Linked DNA regions of Homo sapiens: region 2 is linked to region 1. The links are contacts of gene promoters, found by promoter capture Hi-C in blood cells and fetal thymus (Javierre and others, 2016). All regions are on one chromosome and are shown on one strand. The core of a region is centred on a gene start or on the middle of the fragment in contact, and the rest is flanking DNA. Distances in the headings are between cores, read along the strand shown. Region 1 holds the start of MOGAT2 (monoacylglycerol O-acyltransferase 2). Region 2 has its middle 51 kb from the start of THAP12.

Region 1 (4,698 bases), core at 1,289-3,788:
GCTCACGCCTGTAATCCCAGCACTTTGGGAGGCCAAGGCGGGCGAATCGCCTGAGGTCAGGAGTTTGAGACCGGCCTGACCAATATGGTAAAACCCCATCTCTACTAAAAATACAAAAATTAGCCAGGCATGGTGGTGGGCACCTGTAGTCCCAGCTACTTGGGAGGCTGAGGCAGGAGAATGGCTTGAACCCGGGAGGCAGAGGTTACAGTGAGCCGAGATGGTGCCAGTGCACTCCAGCCCGGGCGACAGTGGGAGATTTGGTTTCAAAAAAAAAAAATTAGTGATAAGAAAATGAAAATCAAGAGTAAAATTTGGTCTCATTTCATACCCTAGCAAGACAAGAAGAAGTCTGACCATACCAAGGGTCAGAGCAGATCCATGGGGGTGGGGGTGGGGTCTCTCGATTCTTGGGGAGACTATACCTTGATGTATTATTTTGGAAAACAGTTTGGCTCTACTCCCAAACTTGAACATTCACATATTCATAAACCCAGCAGTTTCTCCTGCTGTGTTGAAATTGTGGAGAGGAGAATGAGGATAGAAAGTAAACGGAGAGGCCAATAAGGAAGACAGAGCCAGTCTATAAAAGAGGCTGGCTGTGGAGGTAGACAGCAGCTGTTCAGTTCAAGAGACTGAAATCAACAAAACACTAGAACAAGAAGGTCATAGAAAATGATATCCAAATGGTCAGTAAGCATATTAAAATGTGCTTATATTTATTAGTTGTTAGGAAAATGCTATAACCACAATGAAGGACCACTACACACCCACCAAAATTCAGAACTCGGAATTCTTATATAAGGCTATGGGAGTGTAGATTTGTACAACCACTTTGGAAAACTCTATGGCTATCTACCATGAGACCCATCAATTCTATTTCCAGGCACATACCCAACAGAAATGTGTATAGATGTGTACTGAAAGACATGTACAGGAATGTTCGTAGCAGCAATATTCATAATAGCCAGAAACAGGTGACAGCCCAAATGCCTGTCAGCGTCCAAATGGACACTTTGTGGCATATTCACACAATGGAATGCTATACAGCAATGAAAACAAAGGCAATACAGGCACATATGATGTCTCAAAAGAGTATACACTAAATGATTCAGTTTTCATAAAGTTCAAGAACAGAGATGAGGATGGTGCTGAGCTACAGGGAGGAGAGCAGTGACTGGCAAGGCCAGAAGGGGTGCTAGGTAAGTTCTGTTTGTCGATCAGAGTGGTGATAACTTTCACTTTGTGAAAAGACATTTCTCTGTCCGCTTAGGATTTGTGCATTTTTCCGTATGTATGGTATACGTCAATTTGAAGTTGACATTTAAAAGGAGGGACTTAGAAGAACTGATAGGACATGGTGACTGGTAGAGGTGGATGGAGAAGAACAGAAGGGATCTAGTGTGACTCAGGTTTTGGCCTGAGCAACTGGGTAAATGGCATTACCCTTTACTGAGATGGGAAAGAGCAGAGGAGGAGTCAGTGGGGCAGAAGGGAGGTGGGGGAGGGAATCAAGTTCACCTTTAGACATGCTACGATGGAGGTGCCTATCAGGCATTCAAGTGAAGATGTCAAGGAGCCACCTAGAGATTCAAGTTTAGAGCCCCAGGGAGCAGAGCTGCAGATGCAGATTTGGAAGTCTTTGCTGTGTAAATACAATGCAAGGTGTGAGCCTGGATGAGATCTCAGAGAGCAGAAACTGGAGAGAAAAGAGAAGTCCCGAGGATGGAGTGGAGGAGGGGGACTCGAACAGCTGGCCTGGTGAAAGACGAGAGGCACAAAGGGAGCAGCCAGAGAGCTAGGAAGAAAACTGGGAGAGCATAGTGTCCAAAGGCCAAGTGGTTTCAAAGAAACGGGAATGATCAACCATATCTAATGCTGCCAATAGGTCAGGATGAGATCTGAGAATTGATTACTGGATTTAACATCATGGAGGTCACTAGGGAACTTGCCAAGGGCAGTTTTGTGGAAGGGTGATACCTGAAGTGTGGACCACCATTTGTGGTACCACAGATGGGAGGTGAGGACAGGAAGGCATGAAAGATAGCTCTTCCGAGAGTTTGCTGTGTGAGTGAGCAGAAAAATGGGGCAGGAGGTGGAGGACACAGTGTGGGTGGGGATTTTTAGGTGGGAGTTAGTACAGCATATGTGTGGAGGGGGAACAATGGACAGGACAAGGTTATCCTATCCATTGACCTTGGGGCCAGGTCATTGAATAGGTGGGAAGGGGGTGAGATTGCATATGCTTGGGGCTTCACCTGCCTAGTTATAGGAAGGACAAGATTTAAGCAATTGGGGAAAGGCAGCCATGCAGATAAGGCATTGCCTGAGAAAGTTGATAAAGGCTATACAACCCCTTCTCTTCCTCCTTCCTTAGCCAGGCTCCAGCAGGTAGATTCAAAGGTTTCTTGTAGGATAGAATTTCCTGCCTCAGCAGGGGCAAGGAGGCCTTGGGGCTGGGCTGGGCTGGGCTGGGTGTGGCACTCTCCCTGCCAGCTTCTACAACCTGGGGAGGGAACAAAAACCTGTGGGTGCCTCAGACCACAGCAGAGCTCACAGAACCTGCGGGAGCCAGGCTGACCCGCCAGCATGGTAGAGTTCGCGCCCTTGTTTATGCCGTGGGAGCGCAGGCTGCAGACACTTGCTGTCCTACAGTTTGTCTTCTCCTTCTTGGCACTGGGTAAGTTGGGCTGCACTGTAAGACGGGAGACCACCGCACTCAGGTGGGGCAGAGCAGCCACACCAGGTGCACACAGCACATTGATGGTGGCAAGACATTTATCCTAAAGGGGGCTTTGTTGCGCTCAGAGCCCCTGCCCAGAGAGAACTCCTGGGCCTGCCCAGAGGCTTCTTGGGGGTGGAGTGGGGTAGAAGTCACCGTCTGCTGCTCTGGGCAGGTTACTTACTCTTCCTGGCTTGCACTGTGGGTTCTCCTTTGGCACTTGGATGAAGACCAGTCTGCAGGCTGCCAAGTGGTGTGGGAAAGCCTCTGGGCGATGACGGGAAAGTTCTGGGCTCTGCAGCCTGCTCAGAGAGGAGAGATTTCCTTCTGTGCGCTCAGGGAGGAGGAAACTGGGGCTGGTAGTAGGGTAAGTGAGAGAAACAGGGAAAGAAAAGAAGGGTGGGGAGAAGGTGCAGACTGAGAGTGGACTGTGGAGTGGGCATGCTGGGTACCAGGAAACCCGGAGTCAGACTCAGCTGGGCAACTGACTTTAGCCAGCCCATGCCTGACCTCTCCAAGCCTCGACTTCACCATCTGCAGAACGGGGACAACAATGCTGGCCTTGCAGGGCTATTGTGAAGGAAATGAAGAAATGTGCTGACCTCTGCTTGGCACAGACCTGGCCTGGACCCTGGGCTGGGCTCACACTGGAGGGCATGAGCATGGCCCCTTACCCACCCCACCACTGATTTGTGGCCAGAGAGATCACCCTTGCCCAAACAATAGCTCTGCCAAAGGTAACATTTTCTAGGAGGGTCTGGATCTGTGGCTTGGGAAGGGAGAATGACTAGGAGTCCGTGGGGTTTTTCCTTTCATCTGCTGGCACCAGACAAGGTAGGAACTGCTGCTTCCAGGGCTGAGGTTCAGCCTGTACACAGATACCACTCTCCTGGTTGTTAAAATATTGACACACTCTGAACACATTGCTCAGTAGCCATCTCTCTTTCTCTCTCTCTCTCTCACACACACACACACACACACGTACTTCCTCAGAAACTCCCCCACAATTCTGTAGTGAAAAAACTCCCCCTTGGCAAAGCAGGCCCTCCAGGACCCTGCCCTAGCATCCCTTCTGGTTGAGCTGTGTCTCTGTTCTAAGGGTTTTTAGACATTTTACACATTCCTGTATACCCCCTTTGCACAGATGAGCCAAACAATCAAGGATTTGCCTCCAGTAAGGGCTGAGAAACCATCAGTCAGAGGGGAATTCCACACTAGGCCTGGTCTTAGCCCTGATGCACCCCTGATTATGGGGCGGCCAGGGGCTGGCCTCTTCCTCCCTCCCTCCTTTCAACAACAAACGTCACTGGTCACTGAAGGCAAAGGAATCAGAGCTCAGCAGGTTTGGGAACACTGTGTAGTTCAGAGTGGCCACAGACAAGAGGCAGGAGCGGGAGGGACAGGGCCAGCTCTGGGGCTCCTGGAGGCCAGGCTGAGCTACTTGGACTGTGCCCAAAGTTATGGGGAAGTCATGAAGGGCTTGAATAAGGGGAGGCACCTGGCTGGATTTATCTCTGGGAAAATGGGGCAGAGGATGAACAGAAAGAGAGCAGGAAAGGGTCTCCCTTTGCTCTGAGATCCCAAAAGATGGAAACTAGAACAGTTTATCCAACCAGTTGTCCCCATTGATTGAGCACTTAATGAGTACAAACAACTCTCCTGGGGAGAAGGAGGACAGGCAGGGGATGGAGTGAATTAGGCGGCCTGGTGCAGTGGGAGAAAGTGAGCTTTGGAGTTAGGCCTACCTAGGCTCAACGCGTGCTCCCAGTGACACTGGGCTGGCCGTAGTCCCTCTCAGGGACTTTGTCTCCTCTTTGAATGCCCCGGAAGCTGCTGTCTTCCTCCTGGGCCCGAGGATTGGACAGGACAGTGCTGCTAGTGCCAGGCCTATGGGCAGAGTTCAGTCTGAGCAATCTCACCTGCCTTCCTCTCAGACCCCTGTCCCTGACAGCTCCTTCTTCCCTCCCCAGCCGAGA
Region 2 (4,844 bases), core at 1,963-4,462, 610 kb after region 1:
ATTTCTAATGTTCTCTGACTTCTGAGAGAGGCTGAGAACAAAGACAGCAGCTGCCAGCCCCTGCTCTCCCTACCACTGGAAAGGCCAGAGGCCAGGTGAGGGGGACTCACAGCCATTGGGCACCCTGATCACCAGGCACAGAATAGTCAGATCTTTATTTGAAAGGGATGCTATAGACCAAGACGACCCTGGCCAGTCCATCTGTAAGCACTTAGGGACCTTCTGTCAGTCTCCCTTTTATGAGAACTGAGGTCCGGAGTGAGGAGGTGATACATTCAAAGACACACAGCAAGTTAGTGAAGAGCTGGAGCTAGAACCTGGCCTGCCAGCCCTGTGTTCTCCCCATGCACCCTGGCTCAGGAGCTCCTGGTGGCCACCCTCCTTGACCTTGAAAACTGCTCACTGCCATGTTGGAGGTAAACTCTTCAGAGCTCCGGCTCTGGTGGCCAGAGCTGGGCTGGTGCTGGGCTGCAGGGAATCGAGTTACCTAGTTGGAGAGGATCCCTCAGGAGCCAGCCTCTCTCCAGTTGGCAAGAGGACAACTTGGCGAGGCTGGGCTCATAGAAGATGCCAGAGCTGCTACAATGGAGGGCTTCAACCATCCAACACCTCCTTCAGGGCTGCTGTCACCAAACCCAAGCTGACACCCTGGCTCTGGGCAGAGGCTGGCGGGTGTGGGTGGAGGAGGGAAGGTTGTTAGGAAGGCTCTGCCAGGCGGAGGGAGGGGGTTGGCTTCTGCAAAATGGGCCTCTTTCCCGCCTGGTGGGCTTTGCTCACTCTTGCCTCCTCGCTGCTTCTCTCTCCTCATGGACACGCCCAGTTTCCTCCGATTGCACAAAGCCTCTTTGATGAATGATGCCACAAAGAGGCTGCTTCAGGGGACCCAGGGTTTGGCCCACTCTTTGGGCCTTCCCACCCAATCTGTGAAATGGCCAATTGTGAGTATATGAATATACTCAGCTCTGACAGGGAACCTTTCAGAGGAGCACCATGGTTAAGGAGCTCCCAAATGAGGGCATGGGCCCATAGCAGCCCAGGTGGCCCCATTCCTACCCTGAGTGGAGGGGTAGGGACCCTTAATTTCTGTAACACAAGTCAGAGACACTCAAAGCAGGAAGAAGTCTGGTCAACCATATGTTTCAGGTGCCTTGAAAGTCTCAATATTTGTTGAATGGGCGAATGAATAAAGTTCAGCTTAAGACTTTTTTTTTTTTTTGAGACAGAGTCTCACTCTGTCACCCAGACTGGAGTGCAGTGGCGCGATCTCGGCTCGCTGCAACCTCCACCTCCTGGGTTTAAGCGATTCTCCTGCCTCAACCTCCAGAGTAGCTGGGACTATAGGCACACGCCACCATGCCCTGCTAATTTTTGTATTTTTGGTAGAGACGGGGGTTTCACCATGTTGGCCAGGCTGGTCTCGAACTCCTGACCTCAGGTGATCCACCTGCCTCAGCCTCCCAAAGTGCTGGGATTACAGGTGTGAGCCACCATGCCTGGCCAAGACTATTTTAAAGAAAGATGCCACTGCTGAACAGTAAAATCAAAGACCTCATTTAACAGCCCTCATCTGACAGAAGAGAAACATGCCCGGTGAAGGGCCCTTCTTGCTGACATTTCCAAGTAACACAAGGGACCAGGCAGGCGTCCCAAGCCCAGGTGTCTGATGGCTGCTCTTCTGCTGAGTGAGAGTCCCCCAGGACCCCGCTCCAGGGCCTGGGCTCACTACTCCATAAGCAGCCCCACTGCTTGCCGGCAGATCTGCAGCTTCCGCAGACACTTCCAGCTTTCAGTTCCTTGAACATTCCTGTCATTCCTTGGGCAAACCCACTCTACTCCACATTTCTTTGAACTTCCCCGACTTCCCTGACCCTCTGCGACTAGCTGTGTGACCCTGGGCAAGTTGCTCAACTTCTGCAAGCTTGAGCCTCCACATCATGAAAGCGAGAGAAGCATTACTGACCCCGAAGGGCTGCTGTGAGGCCCACAGCTCCAGCTGAGAAAGTGCATGATAAAGTCAACATGATGGGACCTTCACTCTGTGCCAGACATGTGCAAGACAGGGTTATGTCCTGCACAAAGCAGTGTAGGGGTTAAGCACAGATTAGATTCACAGGTGGGGCCAACCTGAGTTAGAATTCTAGCCCTACCACTGACTCACTGTGTAAACCTGGGCGAGTCCCCTTAGCCTTTCTAGGACTCTCTTTTCTTGTCTGTAAAATGGAGACAATAATACCTACTGTTGCTTAAAGGATGAAAAGGGAACCCCATAAACGAAGTGCCCTGCCCAATGCCCAGCATACAGCAGGTGCTCAGTGAAGGGCCACCTCCACGCACCTCCTTCTCCATGAAGTCCCCAGCAGGCTGGTCCTGCAGGTCCCCCAGTGATCTAGAGTCCCAAGTGTGAGCACTGGCCCCTGCTGCTTTGTAAGTCCTCTGCCCAAAGCTGTGGAGTCCTACTTGGGTCTAACTGGGAACACCAAAGTAAAGAGGAATGAGGGGGCCCCAGGATGGAGAGTTTGGAGTGGGGCTGCTGTGTAGGATGGCAGCCAGCAGGCCTGGCCCTGAACCCCAGGGCCACCACCTTTTTAAATCAGATCCTTCCCTCCAAGCAAGCAAACAATCTGGCTCTGGCGGAGGCCCTGGTCAAGCACAGCAGAACCTTTGTGAGCTCTTGACTCTCCCCCTGCCTCCCCACTTCATCCTTGTCATCGCCTGCAGGGAGCTCTGGGGGTGGTGCTTTGGGCAGGGGAGCAGCTGGTAGGCTGCTGGCTTAGCCTGATGTTAAAGGCCTGAGGGGCTGGTCTCACCCTCTAGCCACATCTCCCTCCAGCCCCCTCCTCCCCTCCCAGGCTGCCGCTTGGTCTTTGCAGGCATAGTTGTCTCTCCCTTTGATACTCTGGAGAGGTAGAACTGAAGTGGAGGCTAGGGCTGTGGAAGGGCAGGGAGAGGTCTTCGTTGCAAGAGAGGCCAGACTTGTCCTCACGCCCTTTGCTGTTCCTGGTGCGGAGCAATGCTTCACCTCCGCCCTGGCCAATTCTAAACCCTCAGACCCTAGTTTAAGTCTGTTGGCAGGGTAGCTGCAGCCCTGAGAGGTACTTTGCTCCTCCATACAAAGAGGTGAAACTCTCTAGACCCTCACAGGGCAGCTTTCTGTGCACCTCAGAGACTTGACGAGACTCCTGGGACTCCTGTCCTTGCCTTTCATGTGTGGCCATACCAGGTGCTTCATCACCACTCAGTAGAGCTTAGGCTCCAAGAACCTGCACTCTGAAACCTCTGTCTCTCCAAGATCTAACCTTGTACGAGTTATTGCTCAGAATCCTCCCGCTGCAGCCCGGACCCCTGGGTAGTCCCTCTTCATTCTTCAGGTCCAGCTGGGGAGGTGTCCCTGTAACACCTGCGCTTAGTACTGCCCTGCTTACCCATCACTGCCATGATGGCAGAGCCTCCGCCCGCCTCACTCACCGCTGGACCCCAGTGCCTGGGACAGGGCTGGGAACAAGGTAGGGGATCCAGAAACAAGTATTGTCTGCCTGGCCAAGGTCCCCCATCCCCTTCACTGTCAGCACCTGGACCCACCTTCCCTTCACTGACAAGGTGAGCATTATTACATGAAAAAAAAAAAAAAAAAAAGTCAGTCAAGTAACAAATGGAGAAAACATTTGGATGCAAGACACAAAATGCTAATTCCCCCTTGTTTTTGTAAAGCAATAAGAAAAATACTTTTGCTCATATTTTTTGTTTTTTTTGGAGACAGGGTCTCACTCTGTTGCTCAGGCTGGAGTGCAGTGGCATGATCACAGTTCATTGCAGCTTCAACCTTCCAGGCTCAGGTGATCCTCCCACCTCAGCCTCCTGAGTAGCCAGGACTACAGGCACGCACCACCACACCTGGCTAATTTTTTTTTTTTTTTTTTTTTGAGACAGAGTCTGTCGCCCAGGCTGGAGTGCAGTGTTGCGATCTCGGCTCACTGCAAGCTCCGCCTCCTGGGTTCACACCATTCTCCTGCCTCAGCCTCCCAAGTAGCTGGGACTACAGGCTCCCGCCACCATGCCCCGCTAATTTTTTGTATTTTTAGCAGAGACGGGGTTTCACCGTGTTAGCCAGGATGGTCTCGATCTCCTGGCCTTGTGATCCACCCACCTCAGCCTCCCAAAGTGCTGAGATTACAGGTGTGAGCCACCGCACCCAGCCATGCCTGGCTAATTTTTAAACTTTTTGTAGAGATAGGATCTCGCTATGTTGCCCAGGCTTATCTCGAACTTCTGGGCTCAAGTGATCCACCCACCGTGGCCTCCCAAAGTGCTGGGTTTACAGGCGTGAGCCGCCACACCTGGCCCATATTCTTTATCAAATTGAAAAAAACATTTTACAGAAAAGAGGAAACACACACATGATATATATATATACACACACATATAAATATATGTATATAATTTTTTTTTTGAGACAGGGTCTCACTTTGTCACCCAGGCTGGAGTGCAGTGGAACAATCATGACTAATTGAAGCTTTGACTTTCCAGATTCAAGCAATCCTCCTGCCTCAGCCTCCCTAGTAGCTGGGACTACAGGCATGTGCTACCACACCGGGTAGTTATTTTATTTTATTTTATTTTATTTTTGAGATGGAGTTTCGCTCTTGTCACTCAGGCTAGAGTGCAGTGACACAATCTCGGCTCACTGAAACCTCCACCTCCTGGGTTCAAGCGATTCTCCTGCCTCAGCCTCCTGAGTTGCTGGGATTACAGGTGCCCGCCACTACATCTGGCTAATTTTTGTATTTTTAGTAGGGACGGAGTTTTGCCATGTTGGCCAGGCTGGTCTTGAACTCCTGACCTCAAGT

The links. The method cuts DNA at HindIII sites, captures the fragments that hold promoters and counts their contacts. A CHiCAGO score of 5 or more calls a contact.
Region 2: a contact is called between a fragment that was not itself captured here and the fragment with the promoter of MOGAT2 in region 1, in 3 of 17 cell types (endothelial precursors, naive B cells and total B cells). The highest score is 8.2, in endothelial precursors.

The regions. Positions count from the first base shown.
Region 1 is chr11:75,715,300-75,719,997 of GRCh38, forward strand. MOGAT2 (monoacylglycerol O-acyltransferase 2) reads left to right here and starts at 2,539. Exons shown (of 6, transcript NM_025098.4): 1 at 2,539-2,680; 2 at 4,693-4,698. The coding sequence starts at 2,590. LOC105369392 (a long non-coding RNA gene) reads right to left here and starts at 2,986. Exons shown (of 3, transcript XR_950316.4): 1 at 2,907-2,986. The HindIII fragment of the contact is 5,505 bases long and covers 1-4,698 here.
Region 2 is chr11:76,327,421-76,332,264 of GRCh38, forward strand. No RefSeq gene overlaps it. Among named protein-coding and RNA genes, the nearest start is that of THAP12, 51 kb to the right of the region's middle. The HindIII fragment of the contact is 2,592 bases long and covers 1,917-4,508 here.